6 separate regions of the Homo sapiens genome follow, and regions 1, 2, 3, 4 and 5 are each linked to region 6. Evidence: promoter capture Hi-C in 16 types of primary human blood cells and fetal thymus (Javierre and others, 2016). All regions are on one chromosome and are shown on one strand. Each heading gives the region's core, a stretch centred on a gene start or on the middle of the fragment in contact. The rest is flanking DNA. Distances are from core to core; before and after follow the strand shown.

Region 1 (4,518 bases), core at 1,368-3,867, 130 kb before region 6:
TCAATTAGCTAATATATCCTCACATTCCTTCTTCAAGTGACAAAGCTGATGATAATTACTTTCCTATATCGGTTTCATCTCAATTGGATGGCCTCTTGTTTAAACGATAGTGGTGATGGTAAAGCCTACGTTATATAATTTGTCCATGTAAAATCCATCAAATTGAGTTTTTGAGAAATGGTAATTTACAGCTTTAAAGGTTCTGTTTGGTCCTGTGCATCTAGAAAAACAGCTTGCAACCTACTAAGTTCCTTCTGGTCATGCCAGATGAGAATTTCCAGACCGTTTTTCAAATCAGGGCAAGGGGAAAAGAACAGAACAGGGAATCCTTGGCTGCCACAGCCAGCTTCAAATAATTCAGTGTGCTGGGAACAGCAGCCAACTGGGTGCGACTGACTGCACCCTTGCACCAAAGCCAGAGAACAAAGATGAAGGGTGAGGAAATTAAGGAGATTCTTGAAGTGACTTCCCAGGAGGAATCTCAGACCAGCCACACCCAGTCCCTTCATCTTAGTAAATAACTCAGCAAAACTGCAAATGGGCTTAGTGGAGTCCGTGAAGGAACCTCTCCCACAGAGTGGGGGATTTCTTCCTCACTGCTGCTACATGCAACTTCCCAAACCCAAGCTTGCCTGCAGGGGAAGTGTGTGCTCTCCCCAAGTCACAGCATGTTTATTATATGATGCACAAACAAACAGCAAATAGTCCTTGGAGGGTTTTCTCTATTTCCTGGCAGCAGAAAGAGAGCAGCTGTCTTACAGTTTAACTGGGGTTTTGGCCTTTTTAATACAGTTTTTAAAGTTTGTAGTGGAAATCCTATTTTCTATCTTTATCTGATGGTTAAATTGAAATTTGAAGTGCTCCTTCCAAGACAGGCTGAACTGATTGGTAGTGGACTATATAAGTAAGCACGACCCAGCAGGCATTCATTATTTTATTCACCCAGTATTTATCAAGCACCTACAATAAGCAAGGTTCAGAATGGGGATCCAAAGATAAAATATGCAGTCTTTGCCCTCAAGGGAGCTAACAATGATCATTATCACAATGATAAAAGCAACAGACTTTGACAGAGCAGTTATTACATACCGGGATTACTGAAGGCTCCAGTCGGTTATCAAATCTAGTTTTCACAACACTGAAGTAGTATATTCTCCATTTTATAGATGAGAAAACTAAGGCTTGGAAAAATTAACCTGACCATGGTCACACAGCCATATCCAATAAAAAAGGCACCTGAACCTAGGGCCATTTGACTCTAAAGTCTTTCTCTTTAGTGCCTCACACAGAAGTAAACAGATAGTTGATATTACAAATTTACAATCTAGATGGGGAAAAAGGAAAGATAAAAATCCACTTATTCTTAATTCCACATGGCATTTTATGAAAGAGACTATGTATCTGCCAATAACTAAATATAAGGTATGATAGGACAAATGCCCTAAGAGGTCGCTTTTGAATGGAGGCAGGGGAGGGCAAGGACAGGAGGAAATGGGAATCTACTTGAGCTGGGTCTATTTGAGGATGGGCAGGACTGTGACAGACAGACATGGGGGAAAGTTCTACATGGTGGGAAAGCAAAAACAGAGGTGTGAAAGGGGGAAAGCACAAGGAGTGTTTGGGGAAAGTGTTTCTGTGTGGCCAGAGTATAGTCTATAAGTAGGAGAGTAGTGGTTGGAAAGCTGGTGTTGGGTCATGAGTAGCCTTATGATAGTCATAAATTCATATTTCATTAGTAGGCAATACAGAACCATTGAGGTTCTCAGCAGCAGTGACAAGACCAGGGCTGTGCTTCAGAGAATTACATTTCCAACTGTCTTGCAGGAGTTCTCAAGCTTCAGTGTGTATGAGAACCACCTGCAGAGCATTTAAAATGCCTGGGTCCCAACCAAAAAGATTCTGATTAAAGTGGTCTGGGGAGGGACCTAGGCAACAGTATTTTTTAAAAGCACCCTAGCTGATCCTAATATGCAAGCAGGGTTGAAACCGCTTAATGTTTCCCAAACTTGAGTGATCCTAAGAATCACCTGAAATGCTTGTTAAAATTAATTCCCAGGCCCCTTGCCTGCTGGCTGTGGTCGAGTACGTTTGAGGTGGGATCAAGGAATCTGTCTTTTTGACAACCTCCCCAAGGTGTCTAATTAGGTTTCTAAATTAGGGTCAGGCGGTATCAGTGGGAATCAAGAGCAGGTTATGCCAAGCAAAATAAAACTGGAAAATATTAAATTTTCAACATTATTTATATTTGCTTTTACATACTTCCAGCTCTCTCTCTCTCTCTCTCTCCCCCTCTCTCCATCCATCCACCCACCCTGTTTGAGATGGTGTCTCACTCTGTTGCCCAGGCTGCAGATCAGTGGGTATTTACAGGCACATTCATAGTGCACTTATGTTCTCCAACTCCTGGGCTCCTGGGCTCAAGTGAGATTACCGGCATGTGCACTGTGCCTGGCTTGGTAGATCTACTTTAGAGAATGCGTTTAATAACGTTGTGTGTTACAGTCTCACTTCAGCCTAACTTTAAAATTAAAAAGCAACAACGGCCGGGTGCGGTGGCTCATGCCTGTAATCCCAGCACTTTGGGAGGCCAAGGCGGGTGGATCATGAGGTCAGGAGTTCAAGACCAGCCTGGCCAACATGGTGAAACCCCCGTCTCTACTAAAAACACAAAAATTAGCTGGGCATGGTGGCACATGCCGGTAATCCCAGCTATTTGGGAGGCTGAGGCAGGAGAATTGCTGGAACCAGGACCCAGGAGGAGGAGGTAGCAGTGAGTGAGATCGTGCCACTGCACTCCAACCTGGGCTACAGAGTGAGACTCTGTCTCAAAAAAAAAATAATAATAATAAAATAAACAGCAACAACAACAACAATAAAACTCTTGTATTTTCAAAGAACTTCCAAAATCTGCTTATTATGTCCTTCAAAGCATGAAATATCCAATAAACAAGTATTATACGTCCCTCTCTAATAAGAATTATTATTTTTAAATTTTAAACCAGGTGGAGTAACTATTTTTTCTCTTGAAGATAGGTAAAATGGAACTTAAAATTAAAGAACTTGTAGCTACTTTACCTTCATCTGTAAAACAATGAAAGAAGAAATAAAATCACATGGGCAATGCATTCTTATGCCTTAACTACTACAATTACGTTTTGGGCTACAAAATCATACATTCATCTCAGAGACTAAATGACACAAAATGTATATGTTCATTTAGCAGCAGAGCATGATAATGGCTAGAACATTTGACTGACAACCAGAAGACCTGAATTTAGTCTTGGTTTTACAGGTCCTACCAAGTGACTAGGAGACCTTGGCTTTGATTTTTATATTTACACAATGGGGAAGGGTTGAAGTAGATCAGTAGTTTTCAAACCATGTTCCACAGAAGCTTAGAAATTTGCAGAGGCACTTAGAAGTTTCTATAAAAGTTTAATTTCAATTCTTATTAAAAACATACTTTTATTTAAAGTCTATAAGAAAAACAAAATGTACACTAAATATGTTACACAGTAAATTTTAATATACACACACTATCAACCTGTGCTCATAGGTTAACTCATTTGTGGAATTTCTCCTACTCCACAAATATATATATATATTTGCAACTGTAAATGTGCCACTGATTAGGAAATTATTATCTGCTCTGGTCTTTTTATTTTCTTTTTAATCCAGGACTATATTGGCATGAAAGCTGAGATTACATAAAATCTTTATACTGGATGAGAAGACAGATGTTGTCAAGCTCTCCTTTTACTTATATGATCTGGTATAGAAGCAAATGCAAAGTAAATTTATTATTTTATAAAATGCTTGATAATTATAAAATGGAAGTCTTTAAGTGTTAAGATACTAACAAAGTAGTATAAGGTAGTCATATTTGTACGGTGACTGGAAAGGCAATGGCAGAAAAAAATTCAAGGAGTAGAGGATCACATAAAAGAGAAGGCAGCCAAAAATATTGTGTAGATAAGCACTAGCAGTTAAAATTATACAAGAAGTTTTCTTTTCTTTTTTTTGAGATGGAGTCTTGCTCTGTCACCCATATTGGAGTGCAGTGGCATGATCTTGGCTCACTGCAACCTCTGCCTCCTAGGTTCAAACAATTCTCCCACCTCAGCCTCCTGAGTAGCTGCAATTACAGGCGCGCGCCACCGTGCTTCACTAATTTTTGTGTTTTTAATAGAGACAGGGTTTCACCATGTTGGCCAGGTTGGTCTTGAACTCCTGGCCTCAAATGATCTGCCCACCTCAGCCTCTCAAAGTACTGGGATTACAGGCATAAGCCACTGTGCCTGGCCAAAATTACACATGCAGTTTTCAAAATTAACATTTACATTTTAAAAAATATTACATTGGATAACATACAGATTGATACAGGCTGTCAGTTTTATTAGGACAAAGTCTTTAAGCTGCAGATCTTTCTGAGTTATTTGCAGGGATATAAGCAGTTGTATCAAAATTTATTCTTTTATACTAAAGTTTCCTGATTGACATAAGGCAGGTATGAGGACT
Region 2 (4,517 bases), core at 963-3,462, 250 kb before region 6:
TTATGCAGCCCTCTGTCCACTGACATCTCATCTTGAACTCTGGGTTGAGGACAGCACTGATGGAGCAGTGTGGATGTTAAGGGCTCTGGCCATAGAGCGCAGAATGGGAGCCCTGGGGGTAGCATTAGCTTGGAGCTGGCTTTCCAAAGGCATGTCTGTCTACTTTCAGCTTAGAAGCAGCCCCCTATGCTCTGGGTTTTATTTTGTTGTTTTTTTTCCCCTACAGTACCTCAGGGGCAATTAAGATCAGCTGCAACATTTCTGCTTTCTGCTCCCAGACTTGAGCCCAAGGGAAGCCAGATGTTTTCCAGTCCACATCCCCTTCTCTTTGTGGTCTGATGAACAGCCCTGTTTTCTGAGTCTCTCTATGGCCTGGCTTTCCCAGATCCCACAGCCTGGCTGCCAACTTTATTTTTAATGAGGTTTTAATAGGTGGCTCCTGTAATTAATTTCATTCTTGTGTTTTCACACTTCGGTCTAGGTGCCTAAAGGCCTTCAGGCGCTAGGAGGGATGTTAACTGATTTTAAAGAATACAAAACCCTGTGGCTGTGATTTGCCATTTTCCCAGCTCCTCTGATCTGCAGTTGTTTTTTACAATCATTAATTAGCTGGGGCTCATGGCTCAGCGGAAGGTCAGCTGGTCACCTGTCATGTTTTATAGAGGTAGAAATAGAGATAAGGGACTTGTCCAAGCCCTAAGAGAGAGTGGGTGTTGAAATTGGTCTCAGAAACCACATCCCAGGTTTCAGATTCACTACTCAGCTATGATTTGCCAAACACGGCCAGAATCCTCAGGCCAAAGGTGGCGCGCCTTGGGTGCCCCACAGGTGTCTTGGGGAGGCAGTTTTACCCTTCCATTAGCACTGCCCAGCAAGTGAGCCCTCGGCAGGCAAAATTACCCCCATTCATTTTCTCCAGGTCCCTTTCCCGTTTTGTGAGCGGATTCATCTGCGTAAAGAACGCGTCAGTGATTCCTCCTGGATTTAGAAACAACATAATTTTGCTATTTTTAAAGCTGCCGTTTAAAACTCCGCGCGCACGCACTCACACTCTTCAGGGAGCTGAGGGTGGGAGGAAAAGTACGAGCTTCAGAGGGCGCAGCCAGGCGCCTCAGCTTCCCAGGGCTCAGAGCCGCGTCCCTGGGGGCGCACTCCTCTGAGAGCGCCGGGGCTCTCCGACCCGCTGCGATTCTGCGCGCCCGGGACCTTCTGCGTCCGGGACCTTCTGCGCCCGGGCGTTCGACCCCGTTGGTCCGCGCTCCCCCTGGTCTTCAAGGCTCAGGGCACCGCCGCTGGGTCACCGGGCCCAGGAGAGAGTGGGAGGGGCGGAGAGGCCGAGCAGGTGGCGATTAGGTCAGCTTCGGAACATTCTTGGACCGCTCCAGTGGATATAAATAACAGACGGAGCCGCTCTGCAAAATCTCACCCCCGGGGGAAAGCGGGGAGAGGGAAGTAGGGAGAGAGGAGGGAGAAGGGATTTATTTAGCGTGGGGTGGCATCGTGGCGATATGGAAAAATGTACCAGACTGATAAAGGGGGTGGAGGGGCGAAGGGTAAGAATGAATCGTGGTACAAAATCTGGAAATAAGAACTCGGAGCGGGAGGAGCTTAGGCCTTTTTGTCCCACCCCCACCGCGTGTTCGTCTCAGGCCTTAGAAGGCGCCCCAGATTAGCAGGGCAGCTGTGGAACGGTAGGGCACGGTTTTGGAGTCCCAGCCCTGCCTGACTAGAGGGAAATCTTGGGCAAGCCTCTGAAAAGCCCCCGAGCCTCAGTTTTTGCATCTGTACAGTGGGAATCCTAATGCTTACAAGGGGTGGTTGTGAGCCTCGCCTGAGCCAATTTCTAAACAAGCTGTGCAGCTAAAAATGTAAGGCAGTGTAATTCCCCCGGCCCCTCTCCAAGGCTGCCCGTGCCGGCCCGGTCCCTTCTTGCTCCCTCGGGTCTCCCAGGCTCTGCAACGGTCCGGGAGAGGCAAAGCCGAAATCTGGCTCCCTGCGGCACCGGGGCGCAACCCTGGGGAGCCCGCCCAGGCACTCCGCACACGGGCGAAGCAGAGAAACCTCGACCCGCGCCACAAGAGCCGCTGGTCGCCGCGATGCCTGCAGCCCCGCTGCCCCGCCGCGTGGGGTTGAGGCAGCGGCGGCCAGGAGAGGGGCGGGGCCGGGGGCCGGGGGCCGGGCTTCCCGGGGGAGGGCCCGGCGCGCTCCGGGAGGCCGCGGCGCGGGCCCAGGAGCGGCAGGACTCGGGCCGGAGCGTGGCCGGACCCCCACCCGCCGAGGGGCCCAGGGAGGACGCGGTGAGTGCCCTGGAGGGGACGCGCGGGTAGGCGGCGGCGGGTGCGGTGGCTCGAGCCCGCCCTCTCCTGCTCCGGCTTCTGAAGTTTGCAATGGAGCCGACTCCCGCCCAGGGAGCCCCCGGCCACCCCGCTCTGCGTGCCGACGGGAAGGGCCGTAGCCGCGCCGAGGGGCCGTCCCATCTGCGGTGCCGCGGGCTTCGCAATTCCGCAGGCCGCCCGGGGGAGGCGGCGCCGGCGCTGGAGGGCTGAGCCGTCTTCAGGGGCCCCTCGAGGGCCCCCGTCCGCTCGCCTCGCGCCCGCCCCGAGGCCCCAGAGGGTCCTCGCTCCCTGGCGATCCCTCGCCCTATGCAGCGAGCCCCGATTCCTGGGTCCGCTGCCCGGGGCCACCATCTGGAGCCCACGGCAAGGCCGGCCCAGGCAGGGGGCGTCCCCTCCCCTTGGCGGTGATCAGTGGCCCCACCCCCGCCAAGACCAAGTTCAACAAGTTTGGCCAAGAAGTCTAGAGCTTCGGTGGCTAGGCCTGGCCCTGCCGCTCCGCGTGGCTCCACGGGCTCCGAGTTATGCAGCTCCGGGCGGCAAGGGGTCCTGTCGAGGGGCGCGGTCCATAAGGGTTGAGGCCAGAGGCGCGTAGCCTCTGGGCGCCGAGCTCTGGAGTGGAGGCTGGGGTTCGGAGTGCGTCATCTGGAAGCAGGCACCCCGGCCGGCAGGTCGGGTTTCCAAAAGTGCCCCTTTGTTATGCCCCTCCCTGGCCCTGCCTCCTCCCGCTTTGGCTGCGCCACCCCCTCCCCCAGCCTCCTGATCTCCTGGCTGGCTCTGGCTTCTGGTTCCAGCCCCTCTAACCTCGCTGTCCCTCTTCGGACCAGCCTACTGACGCCCCCTCCCCTCCCCCCCGCTCTGTCCTCAAATCCTAGAGCTGCGGGCGCACCGGGAGGGGCTGCCCGGGAAAGAAGCCCTTGGGCGCAGCCTGTGACTCAGGTTCCAGGGATGGGCCAGGCAGAATGGCTGAGCTCCCTCCCAGGGGCAAGCCCCCAGCTTCTGGAAGAGGTTGGGGCTGGTCTGGGGCCGGGTACCTTCAGGCCTCAGGTAGGGAGACTGGGTCTTCCCTGAACCAGGGACTTCCTACCTTGGCCCGTGCAGCTGCAAGGAGACCCTGCCAAGCCCAGGAAGACCTCTCGGAGCCGAACGTGCTGGCTCCCGGGGCTGGGAAGATTGCATTACCTGCTTTCTGAGCTCTTGCCTGCGGTGGGGACTGATTTGGGTCTCTGCTGAGCTCAGGAGGCACAGGGTGCCAACCTGCTCAATGGGGGCCAAGGTGCAAGCCCTCCTTGCTTGCTTGCTGAGAGGTCAGGCTGGGGCTGTGGGGCCTGGCTGCACCCGGGGCTTGGGCCTGTGTTTGCTCTGGGAGGCCGGAGGGAGCTGTGCCAGCCCGGTACACACAGCTTGCTCTGTTCTGGGGCCAGAGAGAGGGAAGGGGTGGGGGGCAGCTCTCTGGGGAGCAGGGAACTCGGAGGCTGGAACAGGCAAGGGGCCCCAGGCTCCTGAGGCTGGACTGGGGCGGCTCCAGAGCCCTGTGATTCATGGCAGCAGCTCTCTTTCTCTCCATCGCCCTGTCAGGTCCTTTCTGGGCAGACAGGACACACTGCAGAGGGAACCAAGTGACGAGCTTGTGAGGCCCCTGGTGGGCACCTCCATTGCCTGGGTCTCCGCGGAGCCCCTAGCTCTGTCTCCTGTTAGCAGAGGGGGAAGCCCACTTGGACCAAGCATTCCCACAGCTGCTGGAGCGGGCGCGTTTCCTGCGCTCCAGGTGGACATCGCTTCTTTTCTCACTTAACTAATTATTGCTGATTCCAGCGCGTGGGGACACACAAATCAGAATCCTGGAAGCCTCTGTCGGTGACTGAAGATAGACACTGTCCTGTCAGCCACAACTCCATGGGTTATACACCCCGGCTGAAGGGTCACCCGGGGCTACAGGAGCAAGGACAGAGAAACAGGGGAAGTGACTGAGGAGAAGATGCCTTAATTGGAGGTTTGAAGGAGAAGCAGAGGTGCATGAGTTTGGAGGAAGCGCTGTGACAGCGCCCTGCTTTGGGGACAAAGGGCGCACACTGTCCTCCTGGGTCTGGCTGTGTCCCTTGGGCCTGCTCAGAGAGGAAGCGATTTCCTTCTAGGGTCTGTGAGTCAGTCAGTGCTGGGGACAGCTGAGACCCTGCCCAGAGG
Region 3 (4,776 bases), core at 560-3,059, 180 kb before region 6:
TTTTTTTTGAGACAGGGTCTTGCTCTGTTGTCAGGCTAGAGTACAGTGGTGTGATCATAGCTTATTGCACCCTCGAATTCCTGGGCTGAAGTGATCCTTCTGCTTCAGTCTCCAGAGTAGCTGAGAGTACAAGCACATATCACTATGCTCAGCAATTTTTTTTTTGTAGGGATGTCACTGTGTTTACTATGTTGCCCAGGCTGGTTTCAAACTCCTGGGCTCATGCAATCCTCCCAAAGTGTTGGGATTATAGGCATTAGCCATCGTGCTGGGCCATTTTTCTAATCTTTAACCATATTTATTGATAGTTTTCCTTCCTTTCTACAGCCTAAGATGATTGTTTCCTCCTGGGAACAGTGTGGCAGAGCGGAAGGGCAGGCTTGGGAGACTTGAAACTCTGCCTTGACTTTGCCAGACTACCTCACTTGAACAAGCTACTTACACTTAGGGATCAATTTCTTTGTCTGTAAAAAAGAGATAATAATCAATTGCTATTTACTTGAGAGTAAAAGGCCAGACCTATGAGCCCATGATTCCCAAGGCTCTTTTAAGTTGTGAAGTCATAGATTGGATCAACTTCCAAAGCTGAGAATAATGGAATTTTTTTTCAGGTATCTGTACCTTACACAGTAATATCTAGTCAATTTAAAACTTAACTAATAGGCAATGCCAAATATCTAAATGTCAATAAGTCTCCAAGTAGGCAAGAAGATTTCATGAAGTCCACATACAAAAGCTCGTGTGGCTAACTTACAGGGTTCCAAGACATACTCTGATTATACTCGCAGTTTTAACAAGCTTGGCCACTAGTTTCTAAGCCCAATACAGATTAGACAGGGTAAACAAGGAGAGGAAAAAGAACTATAATTAGGCATTAACTACATGACCTAACAGAGAGGCAGAAAAATATATTTTAAATATAATCTGGATACATTTAGGGTACATTTCAGTGGGTCCTGAAGGCAATGATCTTTTCCAGCAGAGTAAAATAATTTATGATGACAAAGATGATGCTTAGATGCCTAGAGGAGTTAAATTACATAAGATGGCAGGGAAGGCCACTGTATACGTATCATATACATTTTAAAAAGATTTCCATGTAAGTTATATTAAAAACAACAAAAAATGTAACCAAATTTAAACTATAAAATAGTAGGCTGTAAAACTGTAAAACTCTTCTGCGTCTTTGGATGTTTACTGTCTCTAAACCATTTATTGATCACTGCTTCTGTAGTGCTTCATGGTGTTACCTGTTTTTAAGCTGCTGTACTGAGTGCTGTGCATCATTACTCTCATTGAATGTCTCGCAGCAGTCCTATAGGGTAAGTACTGTCCTCATTTTACTTGCAGACACAGGGCAGTGAAGTAATTTGCCCAGTTACGTAACTAGCAAGAGGCAAGCACATTCGAGCTTTGAATCATGGATCTGCCAGATTCCAAAGCGCATGCTTTTACATATTCCACTATTTATTGGTGGTTGAATTATTGATTTATTTGTCTATCTGACCCATCACCACCCCATCATTGTTCTCAGCATTGGAAGTTAGTCCACCCTGTGACTTCACAACTTAAAAGAGCCTTGGGAATCACAGGATCATAGATCAGGCCTTTTGCTCTGAAGTAAGTAATTGACTATCTCCATTTTACAGATAGAGAAACTAAGGCTTAAAGAGTAAGTGGCTTGCTCAAGTGAGGTAGTCTGACAGAGTCAAGGCAGGGTTCCAAGGTCCCATTAGACCAAGTCTTGAGGGTAGGGACTCCATCTCACTTGCTTATACATATCAAGGGGACTGGCACACAGTACACAGTTAAAAAAACGTTCAATGAATTTTATCCCTATGCCTCCCTATACAGATGTGAAACCCTAAAAGCAATGTAGTATATCTCAATGCATCTCAACATATGATCATGAATCACCTGTACCCTAAACCCACAGAAGCAAAATCAGAATCCCTGGGGTCAAGAGAGTGAGAATCCACATTTAATTAAATAGCTCAGGTGACTCTTAGGATTGTCCTCATGGTTGAAAGCACATTTTTTGGAGTTAGTCAATCCTGGGTTCTGGGTTCATAGCTCAGCTCCACTGGTTACTAGACAAATGATCTGGGGCAAGTTAGTTACTTAAATTTTTTGAGCTTCAATTCCATCATCATTAAGATGGGGATAAGGCCGGGCATGGTGGCTCACGCCTGTAATCCCAGCACTTTGGGAAGCCAAGGTGGGCAGATCATCTGAGGTCAGGAGTTCGAGACCAGCCTGACCAACGTGGAGAAACCCTGTCTCTACTAAAAATACAAAATTAGCTGGGCGTGGTGGTGCATGCCTGTAATCCCAGCTACTCGGGAGGCTGAGGCAGGAGAATTGCTTGAACCCGGGAGGTGGAGGTTGTGGTGAGCCGAGCTCGCACCATTGCACTCCAGCCTGGGCAACAAGAGTGAAACTCCATCTCAAAAAAAAAAAAAAAAAAAAAAAAAAGAAGTGGGCAGTGTTCCAAGATGGCTGAATAGGAACAGCTCCGTTCTGTAGCTCCCAGCATGACCTATGCCGAAGATGGGTGATTTCTGCATTTCCAACTGAGGTACCTGGTTCATCTCACTGGGACTCATTGGACAGTGGGTGCAGCCCATGGAGGGCGAGCTGAAGCAGGGTGGGGCGTCGCCTCACCCAGGAAGCACAAGGGGTCGGGGAGTTCCCTTTCCTAGCCAAGGGGAGCCGTGACAGACTACCTGGAAAAACGGGACACTCTCCGCCCAAATACTGTGCTTTTCCCAAGGTCTTAGCAACTGGCAGACAAGGTGATTCTCTCCTGTGCCAAGCTTGGCAGGTCCCACGCCCACAGAACCTTGCTCACTGCTAGCGCAGCAGTCTGAGATTGATCTGCGAGGCGGCAGCCTGGCTGGGGGAGGGGCATCTGCCTTTGGTGAGGCTTGAGTAGGTAAACAGAGCGGCTGGGAAGCTCAAACTGGGCGGAGCCCACCGCAGCTCTACAAGGCCTACTGCCTCTAACTCCACCTCTGTGGGCAGGGCATAGCTGAACAAAAGGCAGCAGACAACTTCTGCAGACTTAAACGTCCCTGTCTGACAGCTCTGAGGAGAGCAGTGGTTCTCCCAGCACAGCGTTTGAGCTCTGAGAAAGGACAGACTGCCTCCTCAAGTGGATCCCTGACTCCCATGAAGCCTAATTGGGAGACACCTCCCAGTAGGGGCCGACAGACACCTCATATATAGGTGGCTGCCCTCTGGGACGAAGCTTCCAGAGGAAGGATCAGGCAGCAATATTTGCTGTTCTGCAGCCTCCGCTGGTGATACCCAGGCAAACAGGGTCTGTAGTGGAACTCCAGCAAACTCCAACAGACCTGCAGCTGAGGGACCTGACTGTTAGAAGGAAAACTAACAAACAGAAAGGAATAGCATCAACATCAACCAAAAGGTCATCTACACCAAAACCCCATCTGTAGGTCATGAACATCAAAGACCAAAGGTAGATAAAACCACAAAGATGGGGAGAAACCAGAGCAGAAAAGCTGAAAATTCTAAAAATCAGAGCACCTCTTCTCCTCCAAAGGATCGCAGCTCCTCACCAGCAACAGAGCAAAGCTGGACAGAGAATGACTTTGAAGAGTTGACAGAAGTAGGCGTCAGAAGGTTGGTAATAACAAACTTCTCCGAGCTAAAGAAGAATTTTCGAACCCATCGCAAGGAAGCTAAAAACCTTGAAAAAAGATTAGTCAAATGGCTAACTAGAATAAACAGTGTAGAGAAGACCTTAAATGACCTGATGGAGCTGAAAACCATGGCACAAGAACTTCGTGACGCATGCACAAGCTTCAATAGCTGATTCGATCAAGTGGAAGAAAGGGTGTCAGTGATTGAAGATCAAATTAATGAAATACAGCAAGAGGCCAGGCGCGGTGGCTCACACCTGTAATCCCAGCACTTTGGGAGGCCGAGGCAGGTGGATCACGAGGTCGGGGGTTTGAGACCAGCTTGACCAACATGGTGAAACCCCGTCTCTACTAAAAATACAAAAATTAGCTGGGCGTGGTGGCAGGCACCTGTAATCCCAGCTACTCAAGAGGCTGAGGCAGGAGAATTGCTTGAACCTGGGAGGCGGAGGTTGCAGTGAGCCAAGATCGTGCCATTGCACTCTAGCCTGGGCGACACAGTGAGACTGTCTCAAAAAAAAAAAAAAAAAAAAAAGAAAAGAAATACAGCGAGAAGACAAGGTTAGAGAAAAAAGACTAAAAAGAAATGAACTAAGCCTCCAAGAAATATGGGACTATGTGAAAAGACCAAATCTATGTTTGATTGGTGGACCTGAAAGTGATGGGGAGAATAGAACAAAGTTGGAAAACACTCTGCAGGATGTTATCCAGGAGAACTTCCCCAACCTAGCAAGGCAGGCCAACATTCAAATTCAGGAAATACAGACACCACCACAAAGATACTCTTTGAGAAGAGCAACCCCAAGACACATAATTATCAGATTCCCCAAGGTTGAAATGAAGGAAAAAGTGTTAAGGGAAGCCAGAGAGAAAGGTTGAGTTACCCACAAAGGGAAGCCCATCAGACTAACAGTGGATCTCTCGGCAGAAACCCTACAAGCCAGAAGAGAGTGGGGGCCAATATTCAACATTCTTAAAGAATTTTCAACCCAGAATTTCATATCCAGCCAAACTAAACTTCATAAATGAAGGAGAAATAAAATCCTTTACAGACAAGCAAATGCTGAGAGATTTTGTCACCACCAGGCCTGCCTTACAAGAGTTCCTGAAG
Region 4 (4,532 bases), core at 515-3,014, 150 kb before region 6:
TCAAAATAAATAAATAAATAAATATTACTAAAATTTATTTTTACTAGTCCTGTTCTTAGTGCATTACATGCAGTGCAAAAATAATCCATTCATTTTGGTGTACAAAACAGATGTAATTAATGTAGTCATATGTGGTACTTCTTTTTCTGTGTTTTCCAGGAATCTAAGAAATCATGAGTTTATCTTGTCCTACCCACACCGGTTTCATAGTAGGGACCATGTATATTAATTGTATATGTATATTAAGTGTAGACTATTAATAGTAGAATAACAACTGCCATTTATGGAGCACTTATGTGCTAGGCACTGTACTGAGTACTTTTTAGATTGTTGCAGTTTTAAGATATGCCCACAAAATTCTATGATACTCCCCCACTTCAAGAGGTGGATCCTAATTCTTTTCCCCTTGAATATGAGCTAAACTTAGCAACACGCTTCTAATGGAGAAAATAAAACAAAAGCGACAGAATGTGATGTCAGAGGCCAAGTGATAAAGGCACTGTGGCTTCCTGCTTGCTCTCTTCTTCTAAGACCACTTGCTCTGGGGAAGCCAGTTCCTCATATCACGAGGATCATGTGCTAAAGATCTGAGGCCTCCCACATGACTGAGCTTAGAAGCAGGCCCTCCAGATCCATTCAAGCCTTTAGATGACTGCAGTCCCAATCAAAATCTTGATTTCAACCTTAGAAGAGACTCTGAGCCAGAACCACCCCAGTAAGCTGCTCTTGGATTCCCAGCCTTTAGAACCTGTGTGAAATAATAAATGTGTATTGTTTTAGGCCCCCAGGTTTTTTGGGGGAGATTTATAACACAGAAATAGATAACTAATTCACACACACACACACACACATACATTTGACATACACATATATATTTGAGTCTCGCCATGTTGCCAGGCTGGAGTGCAGTGGTGCGATCTCGGCTCACTGCAACCTCCGACTCCCTGGTTCAAGTGATTCTCCTGCCTCAGCCTCCTGAGTAGCTGGGATTACAGGCCCGCACCACCATGCCCAGCTAATTTTTGTATTTTTAGTAGAGATGGGGTTTCACCATATTGGTCAGGATGGCCTCGATCTCCTGACCTTGTGATCTGCCCACCCTGGGCCTCCCAAAGTGCTGGGATTACAGGTGTGATAATACACATATATTATCTTTTATGTTCTCACAACCACATGGAATATGTAGTATTATCTCCATGCAAATGAGGAACAAAAGGCTCAGGTGGTTAAGCAATTTACTCAAAGCCACACAGCTAGTAGTGATAGATCCATGACATTAAGGCCATATTCTTTGCTCTGTATTATACCATTTCTTTTTAGGTTCTGTTTTTTTCAGTCAGCTTATTAGCTATTGTTCCCAAATTTAATTAGCCTGCTATCAATGCTCTTATGCAAATAATGATTTTTTAAAAAAGCTTGGCTAAGTACATAGTCCAGATTTACACTCCTGGAGAATTTCAGCATGACAGGAACCCATTAATCAGCACACTTTAAGTATGACTATTCAACCAGCCTATATCATCCAGCCTATATTCCTTCTCCTTGTTCGCAAGGATGTCATGGAGATGTTGTCAAAGTCTTGTAGAAATCCAATTTAGCTAAACAAATATACTAAATATAGCTATACTAAATATAGCTATACTGTACAGATTTCTGTCAACTTACCAATGTAATAATCTCTTCAAAAAGGGAGTAAGTTTACATTGTCTACTCCCGTTCCTTCTCCGTCAGTATTATTGTCATTACCATCATTCACCCCCTTCACAGTTATCACTGCTTTTGATAAATAAGCACTTTATACACATTATTTAATTTAATCATCAGGACTACTCTATGAAGTAGTTTCTCTTATTTCAATTTTACCAATAAGGAAATCTAGCTTATAGCAATTAATAACTTGCCTAACATCATTTTACTAAGAAGTAAAAGAGCCAGGGTTGAAATCAAGTCTTCTTTACCCACTAAGCCTGGAATCTTTTCCTATTCCTTTTCCTTCGCCTCCTGTCCCTTCCCTTCCCCTTTATTATCTTCTCTTCCCTTCTTCCTTTCCCCCTTTACCCCCTACTTCCTCCCCTTTTCTGTCTCCATCTTCAATAAATTCTGGTAAGCTTATGGTGATCCCAACTTCCTTTTCTTAATTTATTCTTTTTAAAAAATTTTTTTTCCACAGAGTCTCACTCCATCACACAGGCTGGAGTGCAGTGGCGCAATCTTGGCTCTCTGTAACCGCTGCCTCCCGGGTTCAAGGGATTCTCCTGCCTCAGCCTCTCAAGTAGCTGGGATTACAGGTATGTACTACCACAGCCAGCTATTTTTTTTTTTTTTTTTTTTTTTGGATTTTTAGTAGAGATGGGGTTTCATCATGTTGGCCAGGCTGGTCTCAAACTCCTGACCTCAAGTGATCCGCCCGACTCCACCTCCCAAAGTGCTGGGATTTCAGGCGTGAGCCACTGTGCCAGGCCTCTTAACTTATTCTTGTTCATAAGTAGTTTAAGAATATTACCTAAGATGGATGTCAAGTCTGCTGAAGTGACCTCCTGAATATTAGTTCCTTGACTCTAATCTTCTGAAATTTCTATCCATCCCCGACCCCCATCCCCTAATTCCCCCTCCCCATGCACACTTTCTCAGAGACTGCCAGCAATGCTTCAGCCAGCTCATCCACTAGTCCTCAGTATCTTTTTTTTTTTTGAGACAGAGTTTCACTCGTCACCCAGACTAGAGTGCAATGGTGCGACCTTGGCTCTGCTTCCTGGGTTCAAGTGATTTTCCAGCCTTAGCCTCCCTAGTACCTGGGATTACAGGTGCCTGCCACCACACCCAGCTAATTTTTGTATTTTTAGTAGAGACGGGGTTTCGTCATGTTAGCCAGGCTGGTCTCGAACTCCTGACCTCAGGTGATCCACCCACCTCAGCCTCCCAAAGTGCTGAGATTTCATGCATGAGCCACTGCGCCCAGCCTAGTCCTCAGTATCTTGAAATATAAGATTAAGGAACTTGAAATCATTTAAAGCAGTTGCATGACCTATTTCAATCTCAACTACGTTTGACTGCATTCCCTGGAACCAGTGTTTATTTTATCTTTTCCAGTCCAAAGAGTATCCTCTTTGACAGAGAAGACTAAACCAAAATAGAGGTGAATGCTCTATTTTCTTTCTTTCATTCATTAATATGATACCACCCACCTAGGCCTCCTTGTTCTTTTTGCTCCCAATGTAACTTTTTAAAAAAGCCTTTTAATATTGTCTTTAGTATTGTGTCACAATTCCTAGTTTTGTCATTGTTTCTAGAGTAGGTATATCTATACAAAAGTGAGCTTGGGGTTCAAAAATAATATTTCGGGTCTTACTGTTTGTTTGTTTGTTTGAGATGGAGTCTCGCTCTGTTGCCAGGCTGGAGTGCAGTGGCGTGATCTTGGCTCACTGCAACCTCTGCCTCTCGGGTTCAAGCAATTCTTCTGCCTCAGCCTCCCGACTAGCTGGGATTACAGGTGTCCACCACCACGCCCAGCTAATTTTTTTTTGTATTTTTAGTAGAGATGGGGTTTCTCCATGTTGGTCAGGGGCATGTTGGTCAGGCTGGTCTCAAACTCCTGACCTCAGGTGATCTGCCCACCTTGGCCTCCCAAAGTGCTGGGATTACAGGCGTAATCCATCGCACCCGGCGATTCTTAATAATTTCAATCCAATTCTCATCAGGCTTTTTTTGTAGAAATGAACCAGTTTATTCTAAATTTTATATGGAAATGCAAAGGGCCTTGAATGAATAAAACAATCTTGAAAAAGAAAAAGTTGAAGGGCATACACTACCTTAGATCAATGGAACAGAATAGAGAATCCAGAGATAGATATGCACATATTAATACATGGTCAATTTATTTATTTATTTTTAACAAAGGAACCACAACAAGTAGGAGAAGGAAAGTCTTTTCAATAAATCATACTGTCTCAACTGGCTATCCATGAGGGGAGCGGGGAAAAACCTTGACCCTCAATCTTAAACTACCAACAAAAAATAATTCAGGATGAATTATAGGCCTAAACATAAAAGTTAAACCTCTATTGCTTTTAGAAGGAAATATAGGGTAACACTGTCACAGCCTTAGGGTAGGCAAAGATTTTTTAGACTGGACCCAGAAGGCATTAACCATAAAAGAAAAAAAATGCTAAAAAATTAAAACTTCTGCTCAATAAAAGACATCACTAAGGAAATAAATAAAGAGGCCACAGAGGGAGAAAATATTTGTAATGAACATATCTAACTTGTAACCAGAATGTGTAAAGAACTCCTACCACTGGATAATAAAAAGACAAACAACCCACTAAAAATTGGGCAAAATATTTGAAGAGACACTTCACAAAGGAAGATATACAAATGACCAACAAGCAGTAAAAAGTATTCAACATCATTAGTCATCAGGGAAATGCAAACTAAAACCACAATGAGATTTCATTTCACAACCACTAGAATGGCTAAAATGCAAAAGACTGACAATACCAAATGTTAACAAGCAATTGTAAAAACTGGAATTC
Region 5 (4,362 bases), core at 850-3,349, 200 kb before region 6:
TAGGGAAGGTAGGCATTCTTCGATAAACATGATTTTTGCTGTACGTCCATTTGCAACCCTAGCTCAGGTTTTTTTTTTTTTTTTTTTTTTTTTTTTTTTTTGAGACGGAGTCTTGCTCTGTCGCCCAGGCTGGAGTGCAATGGCACGATCTCTGCTCACTGCAACCTCCGCCTCCCAGGTTCAAGCGAATTCTCTTGCCTCCACCTCCCGAATAGCTGGGACTACAGGCAAGCGCAACCGTGCCTGGTTAATTTTTTGTATTTTTAGTAGAGATGGAGTTTCGCCATGTAGGCCAGGCTGGTCTTGAATACCTGGCTTCAGGGGATCTGCCTGCCTTGGCCTCCCAAACTGCTGGGATTACAGGCGTGAGCCACCGTGTCTGGCCTAGCTCAGGTTTTGAGTTAAGTAAGTAAAAGTTAACTGAGGCATAGTCCAATTACCTCATGTGGTTAAAAATTGTGAATGATGGTGAAACCCAACACAGAAATTAGGGGCTTCTAACTATTTCTGCCAAGTCCTGGTTCTGGACTGATCTTGAAAACCTTCTTCTGGCATAAATAATATAATGTGCCTTTCCTTCAACTGGGGCTTTATCACCTTTATGCCCTTCCAGTCCCCAACCTCAACTCTCTTCATCACAAGTCACTGCCAACCCTTGCCCCCTGATATGGTTAGGCTTTGTGTTCCCACCTAAATCTCAACCCGAATTGTAATCCCCAGGTGTTGAGAGGGAGACCTGGTGGAAGGTGATTGGATCACATGGGCAGTTTCCCCCATGCTGTTCTTGTGATAGTGAGTGAGTTCTGAAGACATTTGATGGTTTTATAAGCGTCTGACATTTCCCCTGTCTGTACTTCTCTCTCCTACCACCATGTGAAAAAGGTCCTTGCTTCCCCTTTGCCTTCCACCACGATTGTAAGTTTCCTGAGGCCACGCGGAACTGTGAGTCAATTAATCCTCTTTTCTTCATAAATTACCCAGTCTTGGGTAGTATCTTTACAGTAGCGTGAAAACACACAAATGCAGCCCCTCTTTTCTCAGAATATCCTCTAGGGTGTGTGTGTGTGGGGGTATTGGAGGGGTCTGGGCTTTTTCTGCCTCTTCATCTCACCACCCTCCAACTCTATCTTCAGACCCTGAGGCTCCCCACAGAAACCACAAAGGATCATTTCGCTTCCCTTTGGAAATGCAGAATGTATTATGTTTTGGGGCACATCCCAAATAGACCCCTCTCCCACTGCCAGTTTCTTCCCTAAATGCTCCTTTTTTTCATTTGTATACACTCCAGGTTTCTCTAGGAAGCAGTGGCCCACAGAGAGCTGAGTTGGTTTCAAGAGTCCAGGAGACGTACCTGGCTGCTTTCTGAGTGAGCTCCAGCGGGAAATCAGGACACAGTAATTGCAGCAAACAGTGATATTCTTTCATGGTCAGCAAATCTGAAGTGGAAATGGAGAGGAACACATTAGGTCTCTGCATTTCAAGTCACTGCCCTCTTTTTGTTCATTTCATGAGTTTCAGACCTGGTCTTGGTAGAGCTGTTCTTTTAAAAGCAAGTCAGTGTGAAGGGTATGCTAGTCTCTAACCTCCAGGTGTGAGATTTTAAGATCAGTATTTCTACAAAGCTTTTCCAGGGTGGGAGGCATCCAGTTACACCATTTTGACCAAAGGAGCTTCACTGGTATGAAAATTGGTCGGGTGAAGAGAGCAAACAAGAGAGGCACCTTCATCAGTCTTCTTTAGTTTGGTTTTCCTTGTATATAAAAATCTGGAAGAACAAGTCATTTCAAAGCCGGTTAAATTTGCTGAAATTCTCTGGCATGGTAACGTTTCCCACCACATGCCCAAAGACCATCCACAGAATATCTGGAAGCAGTACTAACGCAAACAGTCTTGCTGTGTAGGGAGAAGAGTACAGCATAGAAACCCACAGACCTCATTACTCTGTCATCCAGTACTGCAGCAGGCTGGCTTCTTTTGAATGGCTGAACACAAATCTGGTCATCCTATTATAGGAAGCCAAGACAAAGGTCCAAGATATACAGTCAAGGCAACCAAATGATTCCTGATATACAGAAGCAATGCTTTGTGCTTTGGGAGAGGTGAGCCAGGATGAGGCTCTGTGGTCCAGCAGAGAACCCAGAGAGGTGAATCTCAGAGAAATTTATAGGATCCTGAGGGAGAAGAAATACACTGATGCTTAAGTTATTTTGTTGCTGCATGTACTGAAGGCAAAAGATTTTAGATCAGCCAAGGAGTAAGAATGTGTAAGTATTATCATATATCAAAGCATTTCGAATATGGAAGGGCCTGGTAATGCTAAAGTGAGAGCAATCCACCCGGAAGCCTGCCTAATTGGGAGGAGGATGAGTGAGAGGAGGGAATCCAGAGGGCATGGCTACATTTGGGGAATGAAGATGATGATCACAGGCACTTGGTTTCTTTGGACCTAAGTTAGCCCAAGCCACAGGAATCCAGATCTCCTGCCCCCGTTAGTTTGGTTGATGCTTTTCCAAGACAAAAACCCCAAATCTCCAGGGAAAGGCCTGGGTTCCTAGTACTTTTTCATCAAAGCTTAATTCAAGGTGGGGACAGAGAGTTTGACTAACCACACTGCCAAAGTCAGAAACACCAAAGGAACAGACTCAGCGTCAATATAGGTCAAAGGATCAAGATGGTTTTGTGGCACTCTCCTCTTCCCACTTGCCTGACCTCGGGCACAGCCTGGCAGGAGGTCTTGTTCTTCAAGGGAGGGAGTCATTGCCACTCGTGGTCTCAGGCTTGGGGTGAGGAAAAAGGCGAAGGGAAGGGAGAAAATCCACTGAGTCTAATGTGTTCCCACTTTATTCTCACTCCAGAACTCCCCATGTAGAGAAAAGAGAAGAGTGATTTCTGGCAGGGCAGGGAGTAAATAAAGGAAAGTTCTATCTTTGAATCATCGTGCTTTTCTAGGCTAAACTTTGGTGGATATATCTGATAGCATTCTTAGGGAGAGTCAGAGTGTTTCATAGGAACTTACATTTATCCCCCAAATTACCTACAAAATATCCTTGGGAAGATAACAGAATGAAGGAAAATGAAAAAATGAGAGAGAGAGAGAGAGAGAGTTACTTAATTAAGAAAGACAATGCTAGGAGTCAACATTAGCTTCCTGGTTTCTAGACCCTAGGCCCTCTTCAGGTTTTTGATATTATTCTAACTCATGTACTTCAAGTACTTGCTTCCAAGGACAGAAGAATGATTTACAAAAATCACTGCGTGCTTCTCTAACACAACAAAAGCTCTTAAAAATATGAAAAACAGAATACATCCTGCTCACCACTTCTGGAACTTGACTCTTCTAAATGTTAAGTGAGGACAGTAGTCAGATAAAGAGATTAATGAAAATGCAAGCAAATAAACAACTTTTAATTGTGGAGAGAGTAGTTCTATTAGTTGTTATTATTATTCTTCCATGCAGACTCTGTGTTGGGATGTGGAGAGAGGAGTTCTAATTCTACTGAAGTAGTGACCAGATAATGTCAAGGGCAGATGATTTCTGCTACTTCGAGACACTCCTCAGCTGTTGTACAGTGGGTATTGAGAGAACTATAAGTGGTAAGACTTATTTCAAAATCAGAACACTGATAGGCATATGGGAGCTTGTTCCCTTTCTGCTCCATAGGCTAGGATTCAAATTTTGGCTCTGCGATTCACCAGGTATGTAATCTTGGGCAAATTGCTTAATCTCTCTAAGTCTCAGTTTCTCATCTGTAAAATGCAAGTGACACTGACACTTCTCAGGGTTAAAGTCAAGTGTAAGAGAGATGATGTCTATAAAGTGCTTAGCAGAATGTCTAGAACTTAGTAACATCAAACAATGGGAGTTTGTTTTGGTTCTGTTTTCAAATTCTGGAGGTGAGAAGAAGAGAGGAGGAAGGTATTTGTTGCTGAGTTTTTTTTATTTTAAATTTTAATTAATTAATTAATTAATTAGTTTTGAGATGGGGGCCTCACTCTGTTACCCAGGCTGGAGTGCAGTGGCATAGCTCACTGCAGTCTCGAACTCCTGAGCTCAAGTGATCCTCCCATCTCAGCCTCCCAAGTAGCTGGGACTACAAGCATATGCCACCACACCCTGCGCATTTAAAAAATTTTTGTAGAGACGGGGTCTCGTGCCGTCACCCAGGCTAGTCTTGAACTTCCCGCCTCAGCTTCCCAAAGTGTTGGGATTACAGGCATGAGCCTGGCTGTTGCTGAGTTTGGACACTTAAACACCTAAAAGTTTTCTGCCTTGAAAGTTCTCTGTTGGGTTGCCTGAGCCAAATCCGTTTTGAACACTCTCCTGCAGTGGCCACTCACTTCCTATTCCCATGTGCCTGCTCT
Region 6 (4,604 bases), core at 1,986-4,485:
GAGAGGCTGGGGCAGGAGAATGGCTTGAACCCAGGAAGTGGAGGTTGCAGTGAGCCGAGATGGTGCCACTGCACTCCAGCCTGGGTGACAGAGTGAGACTCTGTCTCAAGAAAGAAAGAAAAGAAAAAACAAAAGAAACGGAAATTACTTCAAGATGTATTAAATGAAAAAGTATGCACTGTATACTCCTTTATGTATATAATAAACTCTGGAAAGATACACAGGAAAACAATAATAGTGGTTACTTTTGGGAGGCTGAGGATGGATGGAAACTGGGCAGATGGAGGCAAAGGGGTAGGCTTTTCACTAAAAACATCTACCTATCTATCTATCTATCTATCTATCTATCTATCTATCTATCTATGCATTTTAGAGGCAGGGTCTCACTCTATCATCCAGTCTGGTCTTGAACTCCTGACCTCAAGCAATCCTCCTACGTCAGCCTCCCAAAGTATTGGGATTACAGGCATGAGCCACCATGCCAGGCCTAAAAAATACTTTGAATCAAGTTTCCATATTACCAACCTTAAAAAATATTTTAAAATTAATTTTTAAAATAAGTTAAACAAAATGTAAACCAGAATTGTTTTTCATTTAAAAAGATGTTGGCTGGGCGCGGTGGCTCACGCCTGTAATCCAAGCAGTTTGGGAGGCCGAGGTGGGTGGATCACCTGAGGTCAGGAGTTTGAGACCAGCCTGACCAACATGGAGAAACCCATCTCTACTAAAAATACAAAATTAGCCAGGCGTGGTGGCGCATGCCTGTAATCCCAGGTACTAGGGAGGCTGAGGCAGGAGAATCACTTGAACCCAGGAGGCGGAGGTTGGGGTGAGCCCAGATCGCATCATTGCACTCCAGCCTAGGCAACAAGAGTGAAACTCCATCTCAAAAAAAAAAAAAAAAAAAAAAAAAGATGTAAGCCAGGTGCAGTGACTCACACCTGTAATCTCAGTACTTTGGAAGGCCACAGTAAGAGGCTTGCTTGAGCCCTGGAGTTCAAGACCAACCTGGACAACATAGTGAGACTCTTTCTCTACAAAAAATTAAAAAATTAACCAGGGATGGTGGCATGTGCCTGTAGTCCCAGCTACTTGGAAGGCTGAGGTAGCAGGATCACTTGAGCCCGGAGGTTGAGGCTGCAGTGAGCCGTGATAGTGCCACTGCACTCCAGCCTGAGTGACAGTGCCAGACATTGTCTCAAAAAAAAAAAAAAAGAAGAAGAAAAAAAAAAAAGATGTGCATGGTACATCCATACAATGGAATATTATTCAGAAATAAAAAGAAATGAGTTATCATGCCACAGAAAGACATGGAGGAAACTTAAATGCTTACTGCTAAGTTAAAGAAGCCCATCTGAAAAATTTACACACTGTATGACTCCAACTACATGATATTCTGGAAAAGGCAAAACTTTAGAGACCATAAGATCAGTGGTTGGCAAGGGCTGCAGGGGGAGGGAGAAGGATCAATAGGTGGAGCACAGGGGATTTTTCAGGACAGTGAAACTATTCTGTATGATAATGGAATGGTGAATACATGACATGCATTTATCAAAACCCACAGAACTGAACAACACAAAGAACCCTAATGTAAACTATGGACTTTAGTTAATAATATGTATCTATAATAATATATCTATATAATAATAATAATATATAATATATTATTATATATTATAAATATATATGTTTATCCATTGTAACAAATGTACCACACTAATGCAAGATGTAAATAATAGCGGAAACTGTGAGTGAGGGAGACCCAAGGTATATGGGAACTCGCCGTACTATCTGCTCAATTTTCTGTAAACTTAAAACTTCTCGCCATGTGCAGTGGCTCACGCCTGTAATCCCAACACTTTGGGAGGCCGAGGTGGGCGGATCACCTGAGGTCAGGAGTTTGAGACCAGCCTGACCAACATGGTGAAACCCCGTCTCTACTAAAAATATAAAATTAACCTGGCGTGGTGGCGCATGCCTGTAATCTCAACTACTCGGGAGGCTGAGGCAGGAGAATCGCTTGAATCCGGGAGGCAGAGGTTGCAGTGTACTCCAGCCTGGGCAACAGGAGAGAAACTCTGTCTCAAAAAACAAAACAAAACAAAACAAAACGTCTTTAAAAAAATAAAAGTCTATGAATTATTTAAAATGTGTATTGTGGCCGGGCGCGGTGGCTCACGCCTGTAATCCAAGCACTTTTGGAGGCTGAGGCGGGCAGATCACGAGGTCAGGAGATCGAGACCATCCTGGTTAACACGGTGAAACCCCGTCTCTATTAAGTATACAAAAAAGTAGCCGGGCGAGGTGGCGGGCGCCTGTAGTCCCAGCTACCCGGGAGGCGGAGCTTGCAGTGAGCCAAGATCGCGCCACTGCACTCCAGCCCGGGCGACAGAGCTAGACTCCGTCTCAAAAATAAAATAAAATAAAATGTGTATTGTGTGCATATGTGTGTGTGTGTACATATCTATGCGTGTGTGTGCCTTTTTTCATTCATTAAATGCCTTATACACTAAAGATGCTCAACAAAGTACTACATATACAGTCTTAGCTCAAGAGCCAAGTCAATATCTCAAGTTCTGTTGGAGTGGGCAAATCCGGTTCTGATCCTAGCGCTACCATTTTCTAGCTGTGTGGCCTAACTTAACGCAAGTTACCTCTTCAGCCCCAGTTTCTCCACCTGCAAAACTGGAAGAAAACACGGTAATTCCTCCTAGGGCTGTTGAGAAATTCAAATGAAGAATGATGCATGAAAAATGCTTAGCACAGTGCCTAATGAAAAAGAAAAGCTCGAAATGTTCGCTGACTGATTTGGCACTTGAGGTTCCAAGGTTATTCTTACTCCACTACCAGCATATCAATAATACCCCAACAGGGCCCCAAATCCTCAACGCCAACCTGACCCATTTGAACACAATCCACATTGCCTGAGTTCCAGCCCCTACACTTCAAACATTCTTTACTTCCCAGGTGCTTTTTTCCTTCCTGCTCGGCCTTACAGGCTCAGGCCCTGGAACCCCCGCCTCTCCGCCCCTCCCCATACCACCCGGACCCGATCCCACTCAGACCCCGCCCCCGCCTCCTCCCAGACCCTGGCCTAATTCGTCTGCACGTCTTTCCCTCCCCAAAGTTAAAGGGGGTTCCTACCCAGATACTCGTAGTCCGGTAGGGCTAGGCGCTCCGGACTCAGCATCCTTTGACCGGGGTGGCTTCAAAGCTCCAGCTCTCCGGCTTCCGGAACCCAGGTTGCCGTCTCTCTCCGTTGCCATGGCACCCACGCGGCGGAAGGGGGACGGGAGCTGGAGGAGGTGTCACACAAACAGTCTCCGTGTCGCAAAGTGGAGCTGGCCACTCAAGTTCCGGGGGCAGTCGCTTCACGATGGTCCAGGTTTCTTTGGACTCCCATTCTTGAAGACTTGGTTTTAGAGGAATCTGAGATGAAGAATTCTTTTGAATCCGTTATGTTTCCCAGTGTCGAAGAATTACTGTCAGCCGCCCATATACGCAGTTTCTGAATTTCATAACTATCCCTGCTTTTATACACTGTTTATCCTAACTCAGTAATAGCCCCCGCCCTTTGGCCCCCATAAACACTTAGTATCCCATTAGCTATTTTTATCTCTTTGGTATTTACTATCTTAAATTGCTACAAAGTGCTTACGTATGCATATACCCTGGATGCTTCTAGAGGTCAGAGATGTGTCTTTTCTGCCTATGACGGCTGGACACACAAAAGGTACTCATTAAGTCCTCTGAACTAATTGCCATTTCTTCTCAATTCTCACTCAGTCGCCCAGGCTGGAGTGCAGTAGCGTGATCTCGGTTCATTGCAACCAGCGCCTCCCGGGTTCAAGCGATTCTCCTGCCTCAGCCTCCCAAGTAGCTGGGATTACAGGCGCCCGCCACTCCGCCTGGCTAATTTTTTGTGTTTTTAGTAGAGATGGGGTTTCACCATGTTGGCGAGGCTGGTCTGCAAACTCTTGACCTCAGGTGATCCGCCGACCTCAGGTGATCCGCCTGCCTCAGGCCTCCCAAAGTGCTGGGATTACAGGCGTGAGCCACCGCGCCCAGGCTCAATTCCTTTTTATCTTTGGTTCTTCTTTCTATTCCTAGCCCTTACTATTTGGTACCTTTCCCAGGTGTCTTTCCTTTTTCCTACCAAGACATTGCTCTTCTTGAGGGAGAGGGGCTGCAGAAACGAGGACACCAGTTAGATTTTTTTCCCTATATGCCCAATTGCTCACTTCTTCTTTAAGAGAATATTCACTGGTTTTCAAGTTCCTAAATATTTCTTTTCGCCCCTCTCCACTCCTGACAACAGGTCAGAGATCTGTAGCACTAGACACAGTTCAGACATAGCAGAAAAAGCCACTCTGTCCTCACTTTTTTAGTGCCCTCCCCCTCCAACAAGGTGAGGTTTGTGAAAAAGAGACAAAGAAAACAAAATCAAGCTATCAAAGGAATGACTGGGAAACCAGTAGACCACCTACACTGGGAGGAAAAGGAAAGAGGAGGTTCTTCTCTTTGTGTTCCGAGTGGCCTATTCTTAGCGTCCTCCAGTAAGGAGCCTCAAACCTCCTAATTCTTGCTTTCCCTTAAAATTGTAT

The links. The method cuts DNA at HindIII sites, captures the fragments that hold promoters and counts their contacts. A CHiCAGO score of 5 or more calls a contact.
Region 1: a contact is called between a fragment that was not itself captured here and the fragment with the promoter of CSTPP1 in region 6, in 5 of 17 cell types (M1 macrophages, megakaryocytes, M2 macrophages and 2 more). The highest score is 9.7, in M1 macrophages.
Region 2: the fragment with the promoter of PACSIN3 here is called in contact with the fragment with the promoter of CSTPP1 in region 6 in 1 of 17 cell types (M2 macrophages); the score reaches 5.3 in M2 macrophages.
Region 3: a contact is called between a fragment that was not itself captured here and the fragment with the promoter of CSTPP1 in region 6, in 6 of 17 cell types (M1 macrophages, megakaryocytes, M2 macrophages and 3 more). The highest score is 8.7, in M1 macrophages.
Region 4: a contact is called between a fragment that was not itself captured here and the fragment with the promoter of CSTPP1 in region 6, in 6 of 17 cell types (megakaryocytes, M2 macrophages, M1 macrophages and 3 more). The highest score is 13.6, in megakaryocytes.
Region 5: a contact is called between a fragment that was not itself captured here and the fragment with the promoter of CSTPP1 in region 6, in 8 of 17 cell types (M1 macrophages, megakaryocytes, M2 macrophages and 5 more). The highest score is 24.7, in M1 macrophages.

The regions. Positions count from the first base shown.
Region 1 is chr11:47,068,036-47,072,553 of GRCh38, reverse strand. The region is part of intron 3 of CSTPP1 (centriolar satellite-associated tubulin polyglutamylase complex regulator 1); the gene reads right to left. Among named protein-coding and RNA genes, the nearest start is that of ARFGAP2, 110 kb to the left of the region's middle. The HindIII fragment of the contact is 1,559 bases long and covers 1,838-3,396 here.
Region 2 is chr11:47,184,129-47,188,645 of GRCh38, reverse strand. It overlaps PACSIN3 (protein kinase C and casein kinase substrate in neurons 3), which reads left to right and starts at 2,212. Exons shown (of 11, transcript NM_016223.5): 1 at 2,212-2,297. RefSeq lists silencers at 2,114-2,213, 2,264-2,583 and an enhancer at 1,556-2,442. The HindIII fragment of the contact is 15,006 bases long and covers 1-4,517 here.
Region 3 is chr11:47,117,302-47,122,077 of GRCh38, reverse strand. The region is part of intron 3 of CSTPP1 (centriolar satellite-associated tubulin polyglutamylase complex regulator 1); the gene reads right to left. Among named protein-coding and RNA genes, the nearest start is that of ARFGAP2, 57 kb to the left of the region's middle. The HindIII fragment of the contact is 2,018 bases long and covers 801-2,818 here.
Region 4 is chr11:47,084,037-47,088,568 of GRCh38, reverse strand. All of the region lies in intron 3 of CSTPP1 (centriolar satellite-associated tubulin polyglutamylase complex regulator 1), which reads right to left. Among named protein-coding and RNA genes, the nearest start is that of ARFGAP2, 91 kb to the left of the region's middle. The HindIII fragment of the contact is 693 bases long and covers 1,418-2,110 here.
Region 5 is chr11:47,134,719-47,139,080 of GRCh38, reverse strand. CSTPP1 (centriolar satellite-associated tubulin polyglutamylase complex regulator 1) reads right to left here. Exons shown (of 9, transcript NM_024113.5): 4 at 1,352-1,436. LOC124902671 (a long non-coding RNA gene) reads left to right here and starts at 2,205. Exons shown (of 2, transcript XR_007062666.1): 1 at 2,205-2,264. The HindIII fragment of the contact is 949 bases long and covers 1,625-2,573 here.
Region 6 is chr11:46,935,392-46,939,995 of GRCh38, reverse strand. CSTPP1 (centriolar satellite-associated tubulin polyglutamylase complex regulator 1) reads right to left here and starts at 3,235. Exons shown (of 9, transcript NM_024113.5): 1 at 3,145-3,235. The coding sequence starts at 3,190. RefSeq lists an enhancer at 3,168-3,377. The HindIII fragment of the contact is 8,451 bases long and covers 1-4,604 here.